Regions from separate parts of the Homo sapiens genome. Here all the other regions are linked to region 1. The links are contacts of gene promoters, found by promoter capture Hi-C in human tissues and cell types (Jung and others, 2019). All regions are on one chromosome and are shown on one strand. The core of a region is centred on a gene start or on the middle of the fragment in contact, and the rest is flanking DNA. Distances in the headings are between cores, read along the strand shown.

Region 1 (4,248 bases), core at 822-3,321:
CTCAAAAGAAAAGAAAAAAAATTAGCTGGGCATGGTGGCACACACCTGAAGTGCCAGCTACTTGTGGGAGGTGGGAGGATCGCCTGAGCCCAGAAGTTCAAGGCTGCAGTGAACTACGATTTTACCACTGCACTGCAGCCTAGGCAACAGAGCGAGACTCCGTCTCTAAAAAACAAATAAAAAATATATAGCTGTAAATTTATTGAATTAAAATGAATCTTGTCCTATATACCTGAAAGATTGAGATTATAATTCCCATTTTACAGATGGAGAAATTGAGGTTTAGAGGCATAAAATGAGTTTCCCTGTGTTAAGAAGGTAGCAGAGCTGGAATTCAAACCCAGAATTGTTGGGTTCCAAAGTCCTTTCACTCAAAATTCAGTTCAACAGCTGAGGTCCTACCCTGGGAAAGCCATGGAAAAGGGGGAGCACGTGGATTCTGGAGAAATCCTTATCCACTTTGATTTTTTTTTTTTTGAGATGGAGTCTCTGTCGCCCAGGCTGGAGTGCAGTGGGGGCTATCTCCGCTTACTGCAAGCTCCGCCTCCCGGGTTCACACCATTCTCCTGCCTAAGCCTCCCGAGTAGCTGGGACTACAGGTGCCTGCCACCACGCCCTACTAATTTTTTGTATTTTTAGTAGAGACAGGGTTTCATCATGTTAGCCAGGATGGTTTCAATCTCCTGACCTCGTGATCCGCCCGCCTCGGCCTCCCAGTGCTGGGATTACAGGTGTGACACTTTGATTTTTTTAAGCCCTAGTCTGTTCTCAACCTCTTGTGTGACCTTGGGTAAGTCACTTCATCTTTCCGAGCTTGTTTCAGGATTTGTAAACTAGGTGGTGGTAATCATTCAAGGAAATCACATGGCTCGCAGGAAGCTTTTGATAAACATTCCTTCCCATTCCCCTGCCTTAGAACAGCTTTGCAAATAACTGACCAGTCTTCCTGCGAAACCAGCAAGCTTGTCCCTCCAGCAAGCTCACTCCTCACATGTGAATACATCTCAGCACACCCGGACCCCTAAGGCTCTTTAGGTGGAGGCTGAATCTCTCTGGGGCAACCAGTCTCCCTGGCCTTTCACTCCAAGTCCCACCAAGCCTCGGTTCATCCTGGGAGCCTGGTCCCTCCTCAGAGAGTCGCAAACCCAAACTAGTCCAGAGCTGGGGCTGCAGGTGACTCCAGGGAGACCTGACCTGAAAGGACCCCCTTCAAGTGATAGGGCAGAGCACAGATTGCAAAAACGCATATTAAGAAATCACTCTTGGCCGGGCGCGGTGGCTCATGCCTGTAATCCCAGCACTTTGGGAGGCCGAGGCAGGAGGATCACTTGAGCCGGGGAGTCAGAGACCAGCCTAGGTAACAAAGCGAAACTTCGTGTCTCTCTCTCTCTCACTATATACACACATACATACATATATGTGCATATATATAATATTTATTTATACATATTTATTTATATATGTAATATTTATATACATTATGTAAAATCAATCGATCAATCAATCACTCTGTGGTGGCACTATGGGTCCTGATGGTGGTAACAACTGCTGATGCCCATCTTGGCCTGGGGCACTGAGATCGCCCGGAGATCACAGTGTTAGCTTCAGGGCGGGGTAGAAATTAGAGGATAGGGGATCTCTAGGGCCTGGTGAGTTGAGGGCCTAAGGGGAGTGGGTCTCAGGCTCCTTCCAAGCCTCAGCCTAGATCAGGCCCAGGAACCCAGTGTGAATGTGTGTGCTGGGGTCGGGGATAAGGTGCTTCTCTCCCGTTGGAAGGAGAAGGAACATCTGGGCTGGGATTCCAAAAGAGCTGAGCGGGGGAGAACGGTGGCCCTGGTGTGGTGTGTCCAGGGGTACACCACTGGAAGGGAAGGAGCCAGCAGGGCCTCTCCGGCGGAGCCGAGCGCGGGCCGGGGGCTCGCGGCAGGGGCGGGGCCGGCCCTCGGGGCGCGGCGGGGGCGGGGGTCCGCGCTGGGAATGCCGCGCCGCGGGGGCTGGGGCGGGGCTTCTCCGGCTCCGCCCCCGCGCAGGTAGCCAATGGGCGCGGCGGCGCCGGGTGACGGAGGGAGCCGAAGTGCTAGTGCCGCGGCGGCGGCGGCGGACGGCCCAGCCGGAGCGCGAGGGGCTCGGGGGGGCGCGGCGGTTCGGGTCGCAGAGCCAGGGACCCCAGGACCCGGGAGGCGGCGCAGCCGGGGCCGCCGGAGGAGCGCGGGTGACCTGGCGGCGGCGAGATGCCGCTCGCCCAGCTCAAGGAGCCCTGGCCGCTCATGGAGCTAGTGCCTCTGGACCCGGAGGTGAGTGAGCGGGGCGGGGGACGGGCGCCCGCGGCCGGCGAGCCCGGATCCTCACAGGGGCGGGGCGGCCCGAAGCGCCGCTGCAGTCCGGCGGGCGCCCGCGAGGGCGCGAGTGCCCTCCGATCTCTTGCCCACTGTCCGGCTCCACCCCCCTATGCCCGGGTGTGCGTGTGCGAGGGACAGTTCCGCCAAGCGCCGACTACCTCCCCGCCATAGCCAGGAGAGGGGATCCTATGGGGCGCTGAGATCTGGTCGCCTTCACCCCACACCTAGGACCCGTCCCGGCATCTGTCCAGAGCTGTCGGAGCTTCCTCCATTAATGCAGACGGGGAGATCTTCAGTGCCAGATGTCTGGGATTCTACCAGAGACAGGGGTTATGGGACCCCCACTTCTCCCAGGGCCCTCCGCCAAGAGCTCCCTGCTTCTGGCTTCACCGCTGCTGAGCCTAGAAGGATTGCTCCTCTTGACCCCTGGCGGATGCGGAGTGTGGGATGGCACCACCCGTCTGGGGCTGGAACTCCTGGTTTTCTTTGCCCTGAGGCTAGGGCCAGAGGACACCTGTGTGCCCTACCCCAGGCTGTGGAGACGAGAGTGGGGAAGAGCCCTTAGACCTTGTGAAGATGATTCCTGGCAGGGCGTGGGGGGACCTTGGTGCCTGCCTCCCTTCTTATGCCCCTTCCGGTAGGAAGGGCTGGGCCCTTGGGGAGTTTGGCTTCTGCCAGCCCAGACTCCCCAGACAACCCAGCTCCTTCTCTCTCAGAAGCAGCTCCTGACCTCCCTTGAGGGCTCTGTGGCTCCAGTCCCTAAGCGTGCAGAAGGCCACCTCTTCCTGTGCCTTTTGACCCCAGGGTCAAGGTCAAGCCCCTGAATGAGCTGGTGGAAAACTTCCTCCTTAACCTCTTGCTGGGAAGGAAGCAGGTGATATTCTCCTTCCCAGGTGGTTGTTGGGGGTATGCAGGGAGGGAATGGAGACCTCATTTGAGCCCAGGAGCTGAGATGACTTTCTCCCAGCTTGGGCCTGGAGCCCCTGTCTCAGTCCCCTCCTCTGCCCTCTCTTACCTAGGGCAGCCACCAAGTGTCCTGCCTCTCAGGACCACAGGCTTAGATCAGGGTGAGCACCCAGGGTCCCCAGCCCCCAGGGTGTGCTGCCCCTTTAAAGGGATGGCCGACACTGGCTATTGGAGGGTGGGCGCGGCAGGATTAGGTAACCAACCTGAAGGAGCAATTTGGAGTAAATTGCTCTGGGATTCCTGCCATGGGGATTTTACAGGCACTGCTAGGCTGCTCAGAGGTTCTCTCGCTGACTCACCCTCTGAGGTGAGGAACACTGCCCTCTGCAGCCCCTGTACTGCCACCCCGCTACTAGGACCGGGGCGCAAGGTCCTGGGGGTGGTGCTCAGAGGTGGATTCCTTTGCCCAGGCACGCCCCTGGGACCAGGCCTCCAAAGGAGAAGGTAGGGCTGGGAGAGGCTGGGGAGTGACTTTATGCTGATAGGGAGGGTGGACACCCAGGAGCTCGATCCTGGGGCACCACTTCCTGCTTCTCTTTAGGGAATCCTGAGGCAGGGGCCAGCTTCACCAGGGAGCCAGGTTTAACTGGGAAACTCATCTCAGTTTTGAGTTCTGTAACATCTCAGGTCTGTGAGAGGGGAAGACCAGCGGACTTCCTGGGATTGGTGGGGCAGGGGGACGCAATTTCCTCAGGAGCTTCGCTCCAGAAACGATGTGTGATCCTCAGTCAGTCCTCAGCCTGTCTGGGCCTCTGCTTCTCCAGTGGCAAGTGCTAGGTTCTAGCCTCCACTTCCTGGGCCTGAGAGGGTGCAGAGCGCTGGGTACTGTTGTCTGGTCCCCCCTCCCCCACTCCTGGAGGTGCCAGGCGACTGGGTGTTATTGTTTGGGTAACAGGAGCCACAGGGCAGCCACGGCGCAGGTTGGGCTGTTCTCACTGGAGAA
Region 2 (4,248 bases), core at 259-2,758, 240 kb after region 1:
ACCTGGTTTTGAATCCCTTCTTGGCCACTTATAACATATATGACCTTAAGGTGTGTAACCACTCTGAACCTTAATTTCATTATTTGTAAAATACAAACAGTATGTAACAGTATATAACCCACTAGACTGTCAAAAGTTAGAAATAACTTTGGCTTTCAGCAAGGTTTCTGCCACATAAATCGGCCTGCAAGATGGTACAGAGGCAGCCAGAGTAGAAGTAGATCTTCCCATTCCTGGAAGCTTCCCAGTAGAGATAGGATTTCAGGAACTGCTTAGTAGAAATAGTTTATAATAAAGGAAGAAGTAGTAGGAAATTATGTGTTTAGTTATTCTGTATGGGAAACTTAAATGAAAACCTGAATTGGACACCACCCAGAGCTTGTGCCTACTCTGATACCTTACAATTTTGTAGACTCAGCCCAGGAAGCAAACAGGTGAGGCAGCACAGACAGACAGCAGACTGTGCCTTGCAGACTTCCCTCCTGTGTATGTTCTGTAGTCACCAGACCAGAAGCCTGCTGTTGGATCAGTTTGTGGCTGAGCTCGGGGAGGTGTGGCAGGGAGGGATTTATTCCAAACCTTCTAAATCAGAAGAGGAAAACAGCTGTCACCAGCAGAAAAGAAAGTGGTTGGAATGAAGCCAGCCAACAGTCAGTTATGAATTCCTTCTCCCTTCAGGCTTTATTCCCCTCCCCCACAAAGGAAAACAAAACAAAATAAGACACGTGCATACTGCCACATAACTGGCATGAGAAGCAAAGCCACGGAAGGCTTTTGAGGTGACTCCATGCATATTCCTGCCATTCTCCCTGATACTCAGATCTCATAGTCAAGCCTTCCCTGTCTATAGGGAAAGGGAGCATTGGGTTAGGTTTCGCTCACTTCTGATTGGGTGGGCTTCAGGGTTCACTGAACCTAGGATGAGGTACAGAGAGAATTCTAATGCCTGAGCCTGTCTTCCAGATTGGAAAAGGATGCAAACCTTTAAAATGCCGTGATTGTAACTGAACTTTTATAAAGGCAGTGATAATTCAGGGGCAAAAGAGTGCTATTTATAAGTTAGTTTGTGAAGGCTCCAAGAAAGCAAAGCTGAATCTTGAGCTTATCTAAAGGATTAGTAGGGTTTAGGTGGAAGAGTGGCCAATCCAGTAGACTGGCCTAGATGCCACGGAGATGGGAGAGAGTCTAGATATTTCCCACCAAGGCCATCTCCAACCATGAAGACTTAGCTCAGGTGTTACCCACTCTAAGAAGTATTCCTAGTCACCTCTGCCCCTCTAGGTTGTCCCCCTCTGTGCCTCTTTAAACTCTTCTTTCTAGTATCATAGGTATCATATCAGCAGACATTACAACCTATTGAACTTCCTTTGTGTATAGGGACTTGAAAACCCTTGTTCCCAGGCCTTGGGGGAACAGGCTTACCATATGGTAGATGAATAAGCATAAGAATACATGAAGAAGGAGACCTGTCCAGCTAGAGCAGAAAGACTAATTGTAGGGAGCATCTGGGGAATGGGCTTGGTCAGTGTGCCCTGAAGCTGAGGGAAGGAGGCAGAACTGTAGGTTGGCTGCTCGGGAGGTACAAAAGTCATAATAAGGCCCCGGGCCAGGCGCAGTGGCTCACACCTGTAATCCCAGCACTTTGGGAGGCCGAGACGGGCGGATCATCTGAGGTCAGGAGTTTGAGACCAGCCTGGCCAACATGGCCAAACCTTGTCTCTACTAAAAATATAAAAATCAGTGGGGTGTGGTGACAGGCACCTGTGGTCCCACTACTTGGGAGGCTAAGGCAGGAGAATCACTTGAACACGGGAGGCGGAGGTTGCAGTGAGCCGAAATGGCGTCACTACACTCGAGCCTGGGTGACAGAGTGAGACTCTGTCTCTAAATAAATAAGACCCTGAACACCCGGACCATCAGGACAGTGACTGGTAAGGGAAAGGGACCTGTGGTTATTTGTCAATGAGATATGTAGGGGAGCAGTGGCACAAGAATGTCAAATTTGCAGGGAGCCACCACCCCAAGAAAAAAATATGAGTAAATCCCAAGTTTGACAAAGCAAGTCAAGCAGGGTGGTCACTGATATTATCATGAGTCTCCATTTTATAAAATGTTAGTTTTTATTAGTGCATCTAAAATAGGATTTAGGGCCAGGCGCGGTGGCTCACGCCTGTAATCCCAACACTTTGGGAGGCTGAGGCGGGTAGATGACTTGACGCCAGGAGTTTGAGACCAGCCTGATCAACATGGTGAAACCCCGTCTCTACTAAAAATACAAAAATTAGCCAGGCGTGGTGGTGCACACCTGTAATCCCAGCTACTCGGGAGGCTGAGATAAGAGAATCGCTTGAGCCCGGGAGGCAGAGGTTACAGCGAGCCAAGATCACGCCACTGCACTCCAGCCTAGGCGACAGAGCGAGATTTATTTTTTCTGTCTCAAAAATAAATAAATAAAATAGGATTTAGATATCCAGATGATTTGTACACCACTTTTTAGCAGCGTACTAAAAAACCGGACTCTGAATTCTGTTCCAGTAGTAATGTGAAATTTGCCCTGTTGTGAATAAGCACAGTCTGATAGTTGCAGTGGAACATCCTGAGGGTAAAATGAAGCCAGCTGCAGATTTAACACTTCTTGTGGACTATCCACCAAGCAAGATTAACTTTTTCAATTACCTAAGAACTGTGGTTCTACAAAGATGAATACCTTACAGCCTGATGGGGCTTGGGGCTTATGGGCAGGAAAACCAGGCGGGAGATATACCTCGACTCCTTTGGTTTGGTTATACAGGTCAACAAGAACAAAAAATGGCGGGAACTTGCAACCAACCTCAATGTGGGCACATCAAGCAGTGCTGCCAGCTCCTTGAAAAAGCAGTATATCCAGTGTCTCTATGCCTTTGAATGCAAGATTGAACGGGGAGAAGACCCTCCCCCAGACATCTTTGCAGCTGCTGATTCCAAGAAGTCCCAGCCCAAGATCCAGCCTCCCTCTCCTGGTAAGGATGGGGTCAGCGGCCCCACCAAGGCTGAGAGGGCCTGTTGCCCTGGCCTCTTATTCAGGATATGAATAAGAGGCTTATCCAACAGGATATGCCAAGGATCTGTGCTCTGCCTTGCCCTACCACAGGGCTTAACAGGTTGGCTGACTAGAGAGTGGGCAGTGGAAACTCCCTTGGGAGGTACTCTACGGCAGCTCTTAAGTTTTAATTTTTGTTGTGCAGCTGACAACTTGCCAAATGTTTGTAAACTGGTGAATGGGAGGGGCACAAGAGGAGTCGGTGGAACTTATAAATGGCAGCAAGGCAGGGCCATCTGGGAGCTTTGGCCTATTGATGTCAGCACCTTAGAATGCAGCTCAGACTAGAGCCCTGAATTCCCCAGGGAGCTGAGATGGTAATGAATGGGAAGGAGGGAGTGGGGAAGGGTTATGAATGGAACTCCCTGATGGGAGTGGCTCTGCTCACCCTCCTTTCTGAGAGGAGGCTGAGGCCTAGGGTGAGCCTAGAGAGGGAAGAAGGCCAGGGTGCCTGGAAGGTGGGTGTAAACACATGTGCCCTGGTGTTGACCTCTGAGGGTGTAATGAGTGCCTGAGATGACTCATCAGCTGGGGAGGCCTCAGCAGTGGGATATCTACTGCTGGGAATGGTAACTATTGGAAACATTAATTACTAGTAGTTTTGTACTCATCAGCTTAGAAGAACATTTGAAGTTGAGGAGTGACACCATGCTGGATGCTTTAGAACAGGAGCTCCTAGACTCCTAAAATGCATCCCAGATTTGGGACCCCCTTCCCACCCAGGACTTGGGAGGCTCTGACTGGAGCTCATGCACCAGCATTACAGGGTTTAGTAGGTTAGACAAGGTCCTTTGGCGGAGTGAAGAGAAATAGCCAGGGAAGCTGGCAATGACTCAGGGAATCACCAGCATGGTGATGTCATGGCCACATCACTCCTCTTTTCTACACGTAAAACAAAAACAAAGAGCTACAAAACCCTCAGATTCCCGTCTTTATGACCTGGCCTTGTAGATCCTCTGCTAAGAAGGGTGATCAGGCTTTAAAGGCCTTAGGAAGAACTTTCCCAAAGAGATTCTGGGTCGTTCGTGTGTTTGTGTGAGAGTTAAACACTGTCATGCCAAGCAAACTACTCAACTTGTATCTCTGTCCACAGCGGGATCAGGATCTATGCAGGGGCCCCAGACTCCCCAGTCAACCAGCAGTTCCATGGCAGAAGGAGGAGACTTAAA
Region 3 (4,248 bases), core at 1,285-3,784, 210 kb after region 1:
ACAGAGTCTCTGTTGCCCAGGCTGGAGGGCTGGAGTGCTGGAGTACAGTGGTGCCATCTGGGCTCACTGCAAGCTCCGCCTCCCGGGTTCAAGCAATTCTCTGCCTCAGCCTCCCTAGTAGCTGGGATTACGGGCACCCACCACCACGCCTGGCTAATTTTTTTGTATTTTTAGTAGAGATGGGGTTTCACCATCTTGGCCAGGCTGGTCTTGAACTCCTGACCTTGTGATCCACCCACCTTGGCCTCCCAAAGTGCTGGGATTACAGGCATGAGCCACTGCGCCCGGCCCAGCTTCTGTAACTTTTCTTACTGAGACACATTTGTAAATTTACATTTTGGTCTTGAAAGTGTACCTAGGATAGAGTAATGGAAAATGGATACAGGATTGAAAGCTGTGATCTGAAGAGGTTAGCTAGTGCTTCACAAACTTTAGCGTGTGTTAAGAATCACCTGAATTACTGCCTCTACCTGAGAAATTCTGATTCAGTAGGTGTGGGCTGGGACCTAAGAATTTGCATTTCTAACAAGCTCTGAAGTGGTACAGATGCTGCCAGTTCAGAAGACCACAATTGGAATGAGACTGAAGTAGGTAGTCACCTTTAAGGGAAGGAAAAAAAATTACTAGACTAGGAAGCCACAGCGGTAACTAGAATAATAGTGGTGATTTACACTGTAGTTTGACTCTTGATTATTTGGAAGGCACACTGTGGGTTAAGAATGGTAGAAAGAAAAGAGACTTGAAAGAAACTAGACTTCCTGTAGCTGTGGCCTCAGTGCAGTTTATTCCTGGGTAACGGAGCCCTTGCCCTGCCAGTACCACCCTGGGAGCTCCTCTGCTCTATGGTGCTCATCACTGGATCCCTTCCTTTAGTGGGGCCAAACTTAGTTGGTCACCAAATCTTAGTCTACCACAGAAATGGTTTTTGCTTTTGAATCTGGTTTCCCCTCTCTTTCTCCACTGCCTTTTGTTTTTTCGGGTCCCTGTTATCTCTCACCTGGTGTCTTGCCACAAACTTCTGACTGTTCTGTTTCTTTTCTTCCTCTTTTCCTTCCAAGTCTGTCCTCAGCATAATCACCAGAGTGATCATCTTAAAAAAAAAAAAAAAGAAAAAAAAAACCTGGCCAAGTTATGTTAATGCTTTAAAACCTGGCTACGTGTTGTCTGTAGATTTAAGTCCAAGTGTGACATACAAGTAAGTTTTTTTGGGATCTGGAGGATGAGGAGAGATGTAGGTAAGTTTCCTGTCCCTGGAGTAAAACCTGGCACACTTTTTGCTATGGGTGTTATGTAGAAGACAAACAGACATTTGACAAGGGTTGAACTTGTGTGACTTCTGAGGTCATTTGAACTCTTGGGTCCATGATTCCGAATATGATACGATGATTCCTAAAGGATCCTCCTGTGTTTCATTAGTAAAATAGACATAAAACAGAAGACCATGTGCCTGTATGTTATAATGAGTGCTGTCAGAGTTTGGTGAAGTCACTGATCCATTTATGTCTCAATAGTTGAAGGAAGAAGTCATGTTGAAGTTCAGTCAGTATGAGCTAGATGTGGATGTATTTAAGTGGTTAGTTACAAAGGGAAAGTCCAGCTTGAACAGAGGCCATGCAGGGATGGGGATGAGGTGCAGTATAGATACTTGGGGGCTGGTCAGCTTCCAGGGGTGGGAAGTAACAGGAAGGAAAGCTAGATCACAGGGATCCTGCTGAGCTTAAGCCATTTAGATCTGATCTTATGGGCTTGCAGATAGGTAACTGGGGCAATCATGTGATAAAACTAATGTTTTACAAAAATGATCCATTAGTTTGTAGTATGCTTTGAAAACGGGAGAGTCTTAAAGCAGTGGAATAAGTTAAACCGTAGAACTACTTCTGGCAAGAGGTATGGAGTTCTGGTCCTTCTGTCTCATTTGCATAGCCACCTGCTCCCACATGTGGAACATGCAGGAAAGAATACAGGACTGAGAATAAGTGGGTTCTGTGTGGTGGAATATTTAAAGATTTTGATTGACTGGTGGGCAGGGGGAGTCTCATTTTTGAGGAAAAGTTAAATTCCATATTTATTTTGTGGAATATAATATAGTAAGATTTCTGAAAACAAATGTCCAGTTTCTAGTTGGAGATAAGAAACTGAAACTTGGGTAAGACCTGAGTCTGGATACAAGTTTGCGAGTTACCTGTGTGGTAGTTAATAGTTAAACCATAGAATGAAACAGGCCTCCTAAACTGGAGTTTAGAGATAGAAGCCAGATGGAGCTCTGGACGATGCCGGAGGCCATCAGGTAGAAGCAGCCAACAGAGAGTTGGAGAGATCGGAGAAGGACCAGGATTGTGTAATATTTCTGGAAGCCAAGGGAGGAGGGACGAAGTCAAATTTATATTTCAAAGAAAATAGGTAGTTGGGTTTGTCATAAAGCATTTTATTGGGATCCTTTTTAGATAAGGAAAAGGCCTTATTTCTGAGGGCTTGAGAAAAGGAAATGAGCAAGGGAAAGGGAAAGAGCACTCTTGAAATGCACTGAGAAAAAGGAGAGTCTGGCTGAATCAGTCCAATTCCTCCGCTTCATCCCAAAGACCCGCATGTGTATAAGGCAGATGGAAGAGGGAAAAGTGAAGGTGCTGGCAGAATATTAGGAGGGTATAAACAGGCACATCTTTCTGGAGTTGTGAGAAAAAGGAATCAAAGGCATCCACTGGATTAATTTCTAAGGGACGCTATACCCTTGGCTGAAAAAAAGGTAATCTTAAAGACTGTTGTTGAAGATTGGATCATACTCATTTCCTCAGGTTAGGTAGGAGTGAATGTTATCGATATCAGGAGGGAGGTGGAGAACAGAATTAGGATCTGTAATGTCTATCAAATTATCCCTTGAGTTTCTGAGCCATTCTTTAGATTTCACTTAACATCTTAGCTATTACCCTTCGTATTTTTACTTCTGTAATGCTCTCAGACGCTGAGATCTTGGAATTACATTGGTCTAGAAAGAGGAAATGCGAGGGAGCTATGCTGTCCCTGTAGAATCCAGATTTTAGAGGGCAGGAGTAAGGCCAGGCAAGGAGCTACAGTCAACATCAGTTATTCTGAAAAGATAGGAATTGGAAGGTACAGAATACCCACTCCTGTTTTACATATGAAAAACCAAGGGTCAGAATCAAGATTTGAATCTAGCTCTGATATTTCAGGTGAAATATTTCCTCCAGCATCCCACCCAGTAGAGGAAAGACATGGACAATCTGATCCTCTCTTCATTTTTAGGCAAAAAACTCAACTCTTTGCCATTTAGCATTTGCTAGACTTGTCCTAAAAGGAATGTCAATGGATTTCCATTTTACTTCTGTTTTCCCAGACATCCCTGTGATGGAGGCACAGATGAGCTGTGGAAAGAGCGAGTGGTAGGAAAGATAGCCAAACCTATAGGACCTGCTTGGAGGAACTAGCCAACTAGGGAATCGCCTCAAACAGTGAACCGTTGACTAGAGTTTGGTTATTTGGTTCCTGTGTGGGATGAGAGCAAGCCCTGTTCTGTGTCTGTCTTCTTAGAACATACTGTCCTGGTCAGTGCTAACTTTAATCAGTTAGATCCTTGCTACTCAGTGTGGTCCATTGTCTAGAAGCACCAACATCACCGGGAAGCTTGCTAGAAATGTAGATTTTCAGGCCCCATCCTAGATTTATTGGATCTAACTGTTAATAAGATCTCTAAGTGATTCATGTGTCTAATGGTTTAGAAGCACAGAGACCCTGAGAGCTGAGAGTAAAATTTTCAAATGAAATATCAAGCTGGTAGGCCAGGCACGGTGGCTCACACCTGTAATCCCAGCACTGTGGGAGGCTGAGGCGGGTGGATCATGAGGTCGGGAGTTCGAGAGCAGCCTGACCAATATGGTGAAACTCCATCTCTACTAAAAATATAAAAATTTAGCTGGGCGTGGTGGCATGCACCTGTGATCCCAGCTACTCAGGAAGCTGAGGCAGGAGAATCCCTTGAACCCGAGAGGCGGAGGTTGCAGTGGGCTGAGGTCGCGCCACTGCACTCCAGCCTATGTGACAGAGCGAGACTGTCTCAAAAAAAGAAATATAAAAAATATCAAGCTGGGGCTTTGGAACGTCATAAATTTTACAGATTGTATCCAGTAATATTTAAGTAATCTCTGAGTGTGGGAGACCACCACCAGTTGTTTCGTGCGTGTTTTGGGGACCCTGGCTCCCAGTGCCTTACCCAGTTCAGAACCCATAGTGGAG
Region 4 (4,248 bases), core at 1,215-3,714, 180 kb after region 1:
CCCTTTTGACTTAGCTGTTTATATAGTAGCAGGGAATATGAATGTAATTATGGTCCTGACTATGATTTTTAGGTTCAGCTAACTTACTACCAAAGGCTATCAGCTTGTTTTAATACAAAACACAAAAACTTGGATTGGCACTGACATAGGTTGCTTAATATTGCATGGTCCTTTCCCAGTATGTTGGTAGTGAGGGTATTAGGAACTTCAGACTTATTGCTGAGAGCATAGTTTCTAAGTCAGAGAGATCAGGAAATTCCAATGGGGATGGGAAATAGCCCTATGTGATTACACCAGCTAGGTACTAGGAAGAGATTTAAAAGGTAGAAACAATATCTCCTTCAGAGGCATTTAGTTTTCTTAGGAAAGCATGCTTATGTGCACACATCTGGAAAACTTGAAAAGCAAGGTTTCATAAATGGATGTAGACCACACTAATTATGTGAGCTGAAGGAATTAGAGGAAAAGGTTCAATCAGTTTGGCAGGGTTAACCTGGGACAGCTTTTCAGAGGCTTTTTTTGTGAAGCTAAATGTTCAAGAAACTTAGAATACTAATTTGCCTTTTCATAATGCTATTCTTAAGTTCCATGGGCTTGATAGAATCCACATTGCACATCCATCTCCAGACCAGTAGCTGTCTCAGTGTTCCAATGACTTTGAGAATTTGGACTCTAACCATAAAACTCCCTGAAAGAGTGGTTCCAGGGTCTTAGTGGTTCTTGTGGTCAGGTAGAGCCTTTGGTACAGACTGTTAAGTTCTTGGCTAGTTCAGGGGCACTTTTCTAGTAAATTTGGATTTGGAAGGTCATGTCACCTTCAGAGTTGTGTGCCCTGGACAGCTCTGTAGTAATGGTGGTTCAACTTTGTTGGTGAGTCTGTCTTGGCAGAGTTAGTTGACCTTTCTTAAAACAAGAGCCACGAAGTAAGTATCTGTTGGGACTCTTAGGCTGCTATTTCTGAGGAGCTGGGAGCTGTGTTCAAGTCAAGTTGCTTGTGTTAGACCTTATATTGAGGTTGATGGGTTAGGTAAGCCTGCACATATGCAGTCTGCCCATTTATTCATAGAAATGGCCTTTAATACTGTTTTTGGCCGGGCGCGGTAGCTCACACCTATAATCCCAGCACTTTGGGAGGCCAAGGTGGGAGGATTGCCCAAGCCCAGGACCAGCCTTGGGACCAGGCTATTAACATAGGGAGACCCCATCTTTACAAGACACAAAAATTGCTGGATGTGGTGGTACGTGCCTGTAGTCGCAGTTTACTTAGAAAGCTGAGGCAGGAGGATTGCTTGAGCCCAGGAGGTTGAGGCTGTTGTAAGCCATGATTACGCCAGTGCACTCCAGCCTGGGCAATGGAGCCAAGACCTTGTCTCAAAAAAAAAAAAAAAATTTGTTTTTTATTAGGTTACTATGGCCAAGCAGCTAACAAATGCTGCTCACCAATGCTTAATCCTTGTGGAGCCTCTGGAATATAGTGATTTTGGTTTCTTTACCTGCTGGTCGATCTGTGGTTGGGCCTTGGCACTTCACCGGTCAAGGATCATCAGTGGATGCTTAACAGCTGAAGATGCATGGCATGTCCAGTGCCAGGCCACTGTAATGCTTCTACCTGGAGAAGGATTGGTTACACTGCTCCAGTACAGAAGTACTGCAGACCTTTTTTTTTTTTTGAGATGGAGTCTTACTTTGTCACCCAGACTGGAGTACAGTGGTGCAATCTGGCTCATTGCAACCTCTGCCTCCCAGGTTCAAGCGATTCTCATGCCTCAGCCTCCTGAGTAGCTGGGATTATAGGCTTCCACCACCATGCCCGGCTAATTTTTGTATTTTTAGTAGAGGTGGGGTTTCATCATGTTGGCCAGGCTGGTCTTGAACTCCCAACCTCGGGTGTGATCCACCCACCTTGGCCTTCCAAAGTGCTGGAATTACAGGTGTGAGCCACCACGCCCAGCCTTTTTTTTTTTTCCCCCCCCCTCAAGTAATGGTCCATGACCTGCTGAAAGTACTGGAGTCTTGGATAAACATTCTGGTTTAGAAATACCTTTTCCACTTTTTTTGCCTTGCCATTTTGGCATTTTGCAAAAGTGGGTTTTCAGTTACTCAGAATTGGGCACCATAGTTAACCTCCTATGGATTACAGGTGTTTAGGGGCTTGAACTCTGATCATTCCCAGGTTTTAGAGGAATCCAAGTTCGGGTGAATATTGACTTAGTAGCCTTGAGTATTCTTCCTGAAATTACCCCTCCTCTCCATTTAAATGGATGAAATTAGTTTTTTACTGAATGTGAAGGGACATCTGAATGAACTTCTGTTTGTTTTTGTTAGTCACTTGTGCATAGCTGGAATATTATCTTGGGACAGGTTGAGTCTATTTCCCAGTGGCTTCTGCATTTTCTAAGGGTGGACTGGAATGGGAAGAAGTCTAATGCCAAGAATGCATTCCAACATGCTGCAGAGTAGGAAATTTGATCCCTAAAATGTTGACTTAGTGTTGGTCATGGTACATATTAGAAATCACCCAGTAATCCAGGACAGATTTTTGTCACCCTCCAGGAAGTTATGTTGATATAAATACTAAGGGGCTTTGGGTACTGAGCTAAGTGCTCTGCAGGCCCAAAGCGCTGCTTGAATTGCTACCCATATGAAGAGGAAATGTGCCATGTGCCTTTTTTTCTCTCTTTTGCATTTGGGCTTCCTTATGGCTTTGTTGCTTTTATGTTCCCAAGTCTGCAAAGTTAGATATTAGACTTCCTCCTCCCTTGGCACTGGCAGATTCATGATTTTCCATGGCTCATCACTAGCAGCCAAGATTTTTGTATGCTTTTCTCTCTTAAACTTGTTCGTTTTCAGCTTGCTTGTTTATAGGCATCTCTGTTAAAAGGAACCCTTCTTTTCCCCTTAAGATCTAGCACCAGGGGTGCTTGGGGGTTGTTGTGATATCAGTCAATTAAAAGCCCATTTGGTGTGTGCTTGGTGTTTTTATTTTGCTCATGTTTTCTTTGAGGTCACAACGTGCTTGCCGGGCATGAGTGCCTTTGGGCCCAGCTGTTTACTCTCAACTGCCGTGTACTTTGACTTTAAGAAAAGTGCAAATTCAGCCACGTGGTAGAGGGATTAAAGGCCACATAGTGTTGGATGCTTCCTTTTGGAAGAAACAGATATATCTTTGGGCTCTTCTTGCCCAGTGATTTCTCCTGTCTGGGGTAGACATTGTTGCTTTCTGTTGTCCTTAGAGAACAGGGCAGAAATGCTGGGAATTGGTTTATTACTGTGTCTCTTTGGCAAATATGTATGTCTTTTTCTCTTGCCCTTTGGACAACATTCTGTTCTGGTCCTAAGGTGTTGGAGTTCACAGGTTGATCTAGCGTTATGTGAAACTCTTGGTAATTTAGGTTTGGATAACCGGCTTTTAGTCTCCAGATTTCTAACATTGTGCTTGTTTAGGAATTTAGGCTTCTAAAGAGAACCATATTACAAAGCTTTTGGGGAACAATTCTGTAGGTAGTTTATCTGTTCTTGGGTCACAGATCCTCACCAGGATCCTGACTTTTTTTTTTTTTTAGACGGAGTCTTGCTCTGTCACCCAGGCTGGAGTGCAGTGCAGTGGGGCAATTTCAGCTCACTGCAGTCTCCGCCTCCTGGGTTCAAGGGGTTCTCCTGCCTCAGTCTCCTGAGTAGCTGGGACTACAGGCATGCGCCACCGCGGCTGGCTAATTTTTTTTTTTTTTTTTTTTTTTTTTGAGATGGAGTCTTGTTCTATCGCCCAGGCTGGAGTCCAGTGGTGTGATCTCGGCTCACTGCAACCTCCGTCTCCCAGGTTCAAGTGATTCTCCTGCCACAGCCTCCCGAGTAGCTGGGACTACAGGCGCCTTCCACCACGCCCTGCTAATTTTTGTATTTTTAGTAGAGATGGGGTTTCATCATGCTGGCCAGGCTGGTCTGAAACTCCTGAGCTCGTGATCTACCCGTCTCGGCCTCCCAAAGTGCTGGGATTACAGGCATAAGCCACCACGCCCGGCCTAATGTTTGTATTTTTAGTAGAGATGGGGTTTCACCATGTTGGCTAGGCTAGTCTCGAACTCCTGACCTCAGGTGATCCGCCGGCTTTGACCTCCCAAAGTGCTGGGATTACAGGCGTGAGCCACTGTGCCTGGCAAGGATCCTGACTTTCAAATGATGGCCACCATGCATTTGAGTACTTATTATGTGCTAAGCATTATGCTTAGTCCTCTTGATGAATTTCCTAAT

What was found. The method cuts DNA at HindIII sites, captures the fragments that hold promoters and counts their contacts. A contact is called where the count stands out against the background at its distance.
Region 2: a fragment that was not itself captured here is called in contact with the fragment with the promoter of RPS6KA1 in region 1 in 2 of the 25 tissues and cell types used here (dorsolateral prefrontal cortex and mesenchymal stem cells).
Region 3: a contact is called between a fragment that was not itself captured here and the fragment with the promoter of RPS6KA1 in region 1, in 1 of the 25 tissues and cell types used here (IMR-90 fibroblasts).
Region 4: a fragment that was not itself captured here is called in contact with the fragment with the promoter of RPS6KA1 in region 1 in 3 of the 25 tissues and cell types used here (IMR-90 fibroblasts, dorsolateral prefrontal cortex and spleen).

What each region holds. Positions count from the first base shown.
Region 1 is chr1:26,527,690-26,531,937 of GRCh38, forward strand. RPS6KA1 (ribosomal protein S6 kinase A1) reads left to right here and starts at 2,072. Exons shown (of 22, transcript NM_002953.4): 1 at 2,072-2,294. The coding sequence starts at 2,232. It overlaps LOC124903884 (a long non-coding RNA gene), which reads right to left and starts at 3,709. Exons shown (of 2, transcript XR_007065558.1): 1 at 3,509-3,709; 2 at 1,431-2,872. RefSeq lists a silencer at 1,957-2,436 and enhancers at 2,678-3,588, 3,589-4,248. The HindIII fragment of the contact is 11,905 bases long and covers 1-4,248 here.
Region 2 is chr1:26,768,328-26,772,575 of GRCh38, forward strand. ARID1A (AT-rich interaction domain 1A) reads left to right here. Exons shown (of 20, transcript NM_006015.6): 12 at 2,792-2,999; 13 at 4,173-4,248. Among named protein-coding and RNA genes, the nearest start is that of PIGV, 17 kb to the right of the region's middle. RefSeq lists an enhancer at 3,847-4,248. The HindIII fragment of the contact is 7,519 bases long and covers 1-4,248 here.
Region 3 is chr1:26,738,897-26,743,144 of GRCh38, forward strand. The region is part of intron 4 of ARID1A (AT-rich interaction domain 1A); the gene reads left to right. Among named protein-coding and RNA genes, the nearest start is that of ARID1A, 45 kb to the left of the region's middle. RefSeq lists a silencer at 790-839. The HindIII fragment of the contact is 4,361 bases long and covers 355-4,248 here.
Region 4 is chr1:26,703,487-26,707,734 of GRCh38, forward strand. The region is part of intron 1 of ARID1A (AT-rich interaction domain 1A); the gene reads left to right. Among named protein-coding and RNA genes, the nearest start is that of ARID1A, 9.6 kb to the left of the region's middle. RefSeq lists a silencer at 512-806 and an enhancer at 3,930-4,248. The HindIII fragment of the contact is 8,241 bases long and covers 1-4,248 here.